Linked DNA regions of Homo sapiens: region 2 is linked to region 1. The links are contacts of gene promoters, found by promoter capture Hi-C in blood cells and fetal thymus (Javierre and others, 2016). All regions are on one chromosome and are shown on one strand. Each heading gives the region's core, a stretch centred on a gene start or on the middle of the fragment in contact. The rest is flanking DNA. Distances are from core to core; before and after follow the strand shown.

Region 1 (3,159 bases), core at 309-2,808:
CGGCTCACTGCAACCTCTGCTTCCCAAGTTCAAGCGAATCTCTTGCCTCAGCCTCCCGAGTAGCTGGGATTACATGAATGCACCACCACGCCCGGCTAATTTTTTTTGTATTTTTAGTAGAGATGGGGTTTCTCCATGTTGGTCAAGCTGGCCTTGAACTCCCAACCTCAGGTGATCCGCCCTTCTCGGCCTCCGAAAGTGCTGGGATTACAGGCGTGAGCCACTGCGCCTGGCCGGGAAAACATTTTCATAAGTACACTGAGGAATGAAAAAATCAAGCTGGAGAACACAACATGTAAGAGCCTATTTTTTTGAAGAACAAGTTGTGCTCAAAGGTCACATCATCACCTTCCCTAACTCCTAATCACTCTTTAATCCCTTACTCTGAAATATTTTTCGTTAGAGTACTTATGCCCATGAGAATAGTCTTCATTCATTGTCTGTAGAAAGTTCCATGTGTACACGGATTTTATTTGTTCAAATGCTCTGTCCTCAGCTCCTAAAACATTTTAAGTGTTAATTATTAATTGAAAAAATATGGCTGGGCGCGGTGGCTCACGCCTGTAATCCCAGCACTTTAGGAGGCCGAGGCGGGCGGATTATGAGGTCAGGAGATCGAGACCATCCTGGCCAACATGGTGAAACCCTGTCTCTAGTAAAAATACAAAAATTAGCTGGGCATGGTGGCGCGTGCTTGTCATCCCAGCTATTCGGGAGTGTGAGACAAGAGAATCTCTTGAACCAGGGACCCAGAGGTTGCACTGAGCCGAGATCGCGCCACTGCACTCCAGCCTGGCGACACAGCGAGACTCTGTCTCAAATTAAAAAAAAAAGGAAAAAATATGGATGACCCAGAAACACACACACACTTCAGAAAATTATATATATTTCAGAGAACGTGGGTTTTAAGAGAATAATAGCTCCGTGAGCTGACATTAGATGTAGGTGCAGCTAAAATATTCTAAAATATTTGTATAGTCCTTTTCTGCTTGATAAAGCAGCTTTAGTTATACAGTCCCATTTAGTACTCGTAACAACGCTGTGAAATACATAAAAAACAGAAATAACGTATATGTTTGCACTCCATGGCTTGCTAAAGTCATTCTTTCAATTGATGGTCTCAATCCTGGTCAACTAATTCCTTTCTATTCTCCAGACTACTTCTAGTTTTCTGAACACCAAAGTTTCATTCTTTGTCTTTGTATGTGTATCCCTCGTTCGAGAATGTTGTCCTCATTTTCCACAGATAATGTTCTTGCCTGTAATCATCCTTTGAAACCCTGTTCGGCCCGAGAACCCGAGACCCATACTGGAGACACCGGCCCCTCCCGACCCACCAGTCCCTCCCGTCCCGACCCTCCAGCCCCTCCAGCCCCTCCCCTCCCGACCCTCCAGCCCCTCCCCTCCCGACCCTCCAGCCCCTCCCCTCCCGACCCACCAGCCGGCACTAAGATACCTCCCCTTAGAAGCCTGTCTGGCCCCGCCTACGTCTACGGCCTCCCGGTTGGAAGCCCCGCCCTTCCGAGGAGTTTCCCAAAACCCTGCGCGGCCGGCTTTGACCGCGCTAAGATGGCGACTCCCATGCATCGGCTAATAGCCCGGAGACAAGCGTAAGTAAGGATCCGGTTCGGGTCCACTGGAGGGCTGGGAGCGGGGAAACGCGCGTCAACGGGCTGGTGTCGGACCCCTATTGGGACCGGCGGAGAATGTCCGTTTCTCAAACACTCTTCTGGCTCCCGGGGGGCTCGGGCCCGGGCGATAAGTCTGGTGACCGGGGGTTAGCGATTTCGCGGAAGACAGCCGCGTAAAGTCTGCGGCACGGGACAGAGCGGGGTTTGAAGACAACTGTCGCGTTTGGTTTCTCTGAAAGGAACGCCCACAGTTGGTCACTCAGTGATTTATGCCCCTCCGCCAACCCCACGCGTGGACAGGGGAGCCCTGAAGCCCCGGTCCGACACCTTTATTCCAGCCGACGTAAACCTTCAGTTTCCTATTCAGTGTCCAGCCCAGCTGCCTTTTCCTACTTCCTTATTCTAGCGCCTTCCTTAGGAACACCCTGCCTTCAATGCCGATTGCTTTCCCAGGCTATCTTACCACCTTTTGCTACTCATTCTCTCTTTCAATAAATATTAATTTATTTAGTTCCTACCGTTCTGTGCCAGACATTGGGTATAAATAGAGGTGTTCAAGACAAAATCCTTGCTTTCAGAGAGCTTACATTCTAGTGATGGAAACAGTCGATAAACCACAAATTGTAAATACAGCTGGTGATAACAGCTTTGAAGGAAGTAAGCTGTTGTGATGGAAAGAGGGAAAGGCCCACTTTAGGTTGGTTGGACTGGAAAGGCATCTCTGAAGAGGTGGAATTTGAACAGAGATTTAAAGGATGAAAAAGGAACAGTCATACGAGGATTTTGAGAAAGAGCATCCGGATAGTGGCATAATTGCTTTGAGCCTGAAACTTACTTTTTACAGAACTGAAAGATAGCCATTACGCCTAATGAACAAGAGAGAGTGGCAGAAGAGATTCATAGCTGACAAATAATGCAAGGGTCACCCCAGATGCCCCTTTCTTTTTTTTTTTTTTTTTTTTTTTTTTTTTTGAGGCGGAGTCTTGCTCTGTCTCCCAGGCTGGAGTGCAGAGGTGCAATCTTGGCTCACTGCAAGCTCCGCCCCCCGGGTTCACGCCGTTCCCCTGCCTCAGCCTCCCGAGTAGCTGGGACTACAGGCGCCCGCCACCATGCCCGGCTGGTTTTTTGTATTTTTAGTAGAGATGGGGTTTCACCGTGTTAGCCAGGATGGTCTCGATCCCCTGACCTCGAGATCCGCCCGCCTTGGCCTCCCAAAGTGCTGGGATTACAGGCGTGAGCTACCGCGCGCGGCAACCCCTTTCTTATAAAGCTTTTTTTTCCAACAGCCTTTGCACATCCAGACATCTGCCTCTTTTTCATAAATATTTCATGCCATCTCCATTTTCATGTCTATATGTAGCTCAGAGTCTGCTAGTATATGTATGTGTGTTTATCTGTATATCTTTTTATATTTTTTAATTCAAATAATCCCTTTTTCTTCTCCTTTCCATCTACCCTTTCAGGCCTGATAAGAAGAGTTCCTCAAATGTACAGACAGACTTAGGGAGTTAGAGTAGTAAGCTTGGTG
Region 2 (3,243 bases), core at 368-2,867, 1.2 Mb before region 1:
TAAAGGGTCTTTTTCCCAGTCTGGTAAATTAAGTATGTGATAAGACTTCTAGAAGAGTAGATTTAAGGTACTTTCTTTTGTGCACACTAATGGGAGGTGTGAAGGGAAAGCAGAATTGCAATTTCCAGCCTAGGGAGGCCAAGCCAGTCGGCCTTGCCAAACACGTTGTCTTGGATAAAGGAGGATTTTCAGTCCTGCTATTGGCTGATGGGGCCTCCAGTGCCTTCTTCAGCCTGTTGGTGGGGATGATGCCCTCAGAGCCGCAGAGTGAGCAGTCTCCTCCCAAGCATCGCTGAGCACTTGGGTGTGGAAGGGTTGCCTGATACTGAGGGTGGGGTTCCTGGAAGACAGGCGATCAGGTTCAGCTCTTGCCTTGCCCTTTATGGTTAAATGTTCTTTGGAAAGCTTCTATATCTTTCAAATCCTGGGGGCATTATGATCTCTCTTCTGCCTATCCCAAACCATCTTCAGCCAGTACTGTTGGGAGAATACAAGCTCCAGGGCATGGTCCCTGGTCCGTCTGGATGACCCCTCCGGATCTGGCATATAGCTGGCGCTCTATGGAACCAGATATTTATGTAAAAGCAGGGACAATGGAATGTGAAAACGTTTCGCAAACTCCAAAGCGATTCATAACCAGACAGAGGTCCAATCCTAGGGTATACGAGCTCTCTCTTTTAAGCACGTATCACAGCTGCTTCTCACGCCACCGAGACGCGGTCAGGACAGGTGCATCCATCTTCTCTGGGCTTCCCCTCTTGAAAGTAGGCCAGGGCGCGCAGGGGTTGAGGGTCTCTCATTCCCAGAGAGAATTAAACTTGGAGGAAAGCAACCACCGGCGAGGAGCGGGGCGCGTGGAAGCGAGCCGCGGTCCGAGGCCCAAAGAAAAGCCCAAGCCTCGCCCCCGCCATCGCGCCCGACGAGACACCTAGGTCCGGGGACGGGTGTGTGCCGCGGAAGTCAGGTGCACTGCGCAGCACTCCCCCGGTAGGTACACGCTCCTCCACCTACGAGTGACCTAATTACAAGGTGCCAGCCGCGCCCAGAGGTGGGGGTGGTTAATCCAAGCGGCCACTCGCTGCCCGTTCCTGCCCCCAAAGATGACGGAAACCCACACGATTACAGAGCCGCAGCACCCCAGATGAGCCACGGGGTCGCAATTCTCGTTTCCGTGATCGGACTGCCAGGCCCCAGGTGAGGAGCTGAGTTCATCACCAGAGCGGCCTTCCCAGGGGAACCAGTTACAGGCTGCCAGTGGCCCCGGCTTCCATCCGGTCTGCGCCTGCGCGCGGCCCAAGCCCTCGCCTCTCCTGGAATAGTGCTCAGGGATTAGTCCGGTTCGCCGCTGTGCGCACTGCGCATGCTCCAGCTCCATCCTTCCCTTCCCCCACCACCCCGCCCTCCGGGAGCCACGCCCAAAAAGTCAAGGCGCTTCAGTTACCAGCCGGCTACGTCGCGCCTGCGCTTTGACCCCCAGTTTGCGCCCCAACTCCGGTCGTGCGGCCGCCCGGGGAGGGCTCTGCAGTTGCGCAGCTTGCTCCCCGGCCCTTTTCCCCTCCGCTCCCCGCCGCCTCCTGACGCCGGGCGTGACGTCACCACGCCCGGCGGCCGCCATTACAGAGAGCCGAGCTCTGGAGCCTCAGCGAGCGGAGGAGGAGGCGCAGCGGCCGACGGCCGAGTACTGCGGTGAGAGCCAGCGGGCCAGCGCCAGCCTCAACAGCCGCCAGAAGTACACGAGGAACCGGCGGCGGCGTGTGCGTGTAGGCCCGTGTGCGGGCGGCGGCGCGGGAGCAGCGCGGAGCGGCAGCCGGCTGGGGCGGGTGGCATCATGGACGAGAAGGTGTTCACCAAGGAGCTGGACCAGTGGATCGAGCAGCTGAACGAGTGCAAGCAGCTGTCCGAGTCCCAGGTCAAGAGCCTCTGCGAGAAGGTGAGCTGTAGTACGGCTGCGGACAGCCGCCGCGGGGCCGAGCCCGCCGAGGAAAAGGCGGCCGTGAGGAGGGTGCAACATGGCGGAGGCCGCCGGTCCGGGCCCCCCGAGTCTCCGAGACCGGCGCCCATCCTGGCCGGCGGCGGCTTCCTAACGACCCGGCGCCCCCTGCCTCCCGCGCAGGGATTGGTTGCCGCCGCCGCCTAAAATGGCGCCGTTCACTCGACTCCTGGGCTTTTGAGTCAGCCGGCCTTGGCGCCAGACGAGGTGGCAGGGGGAGCGGAGACCCTGTGGGTCATCGTCAGGGACGGTTTTGAGGGTGAGCTGGCTTGGATTCTGCGGCTTGGGAATGGAGCCTGGGCCTCTCCGGTGGGCTGAGTAAGAGTCTTGCCGCTGGTACCCAGGCCTAGTTAGGTCCAGAGCTGCCCAGAGGATCCCCCAAAGGCAGTCTTGTTAGGCCGTATCCCAGAACATACCTAAAGGTCACACAGCTTTAGTACCCCTTGGTGGTTTGTATTAAACTCACCAAGCGATCTTCTCCAGAAATCAAGGTAAGGGGTGTCTTTAAGAATTTTTAAATTATTCTCTTAACCTAATTTTTACGAAGGTCATGGTGGTAGCTATAAGGGAGGAGTGTAACTTATTTTTCATAGTTGGAAGAAATCGGGAATTTGGTGAGTCATACTACATAAGGAGCTTTTGGATTGGAAATCAAGTGTCGGTTGAATATGATTTATATGCTGACTCAAAGCCTTCTCTAAGCTTAACACACTTGGCATTTTGCCGTTTATTTTTAAAATGAACAACATAAAATGGAAGAGCGGTAAATTTTGTATCTTTGTTGCAAAAATTACTTGATAGTATTTTGTGGCTGCAAGTAGTAGTAGTGATAATAACTGTCGACTGAGATTGTATTCCAGACATTGTGCTTAGTGTTTAAATAATGTCTCACATACACTGAAAATAGAATGTTGTAGTCCACTTAGTAACACTAAACTTTATATTAGCTAATTCCCTTTTGTTTTCCCCTGGGGGTTGGGGAAACAGGTAGTTAATTTAGCTATTAGCTTTGTGTTGTATTTTTAAATTCTTGTAACTCAGTTTTCTAAAGTACACAAAATGCTGATCTCTGCTGTGAACATTTTAACTTCCCTTTTCAAAATTAACTTTGCAGCACGTCACTTTAGTACAGAATAGTGGAGTATCATATTAGCATTTTGTATCCGTGAAAAGAATTAATGGAGAACTATTATCCTGATTTGTTTCTGGTTTGATGTGAAAATTAGGTTCATGAGTTTGACGTATATGTTTCC

Evidence for each region. The method cuts DNA at HindIII sites, captures the fragments that hold promoters and counts their contacts. A CHiCAGO score of 5 or more calls a contact.
Region 2: the fragment with the promoter of PPP2CA here is called in contact with the fragment with the promoter of ZCCHC10 in region 1 in 1 of 17 cell types (non-activated CD4 T cells); the score reaches 8.9 in non-activated CD4 T cells.

Annotation. Positions count from the first base shown.
Region 1 is chr5:133,024,948-133,028,106 of GRCh38, reverse strand. It overlaps ZCCHC10 (zinc finger CCHC-type containing 10), which reads left to right and starts at 1,558. Exons shown (of 5, transcript NM_001300816.3): 1 at 1,558-1,610. The coding sequence starts at 1,570. RefSeq lists a silencer at 1,279-1,408 and an enhancer at 1,489-1,798. The HindIII fragment of the contact is 6,187 bases long and covers 1-2,903 here.
Region 2 is chr5:134,224,447-134,227,689 of GRCh38, reverse strand. PPP2CA (protein phosphatase 2 catalytic subunit alpha) reads left to right here and starts at 1,617. Exons shown (of 7, transcript NM_002715.4): 1 at 1,617-1,930. The coding sequence starts at 1,829. It overlaps MIR3661 (microRNA 3661), which reads right to left and starts at 1,933; the gene lies at 1,838-1,933. PPP2CA-DT (PPP2CA divergent transcript) reads right to left here and starts at 1,280. Exons shown (of 1, transcript NR_186539.1): 1 at 1-1,280. RefSeq lists enhancers at 317-836, 678-837, 837-1,358, 1,359-1,878, 2,218-2,327. The HindIII fragment of the contact is 2,287 bases long and covers 408-2,694 here.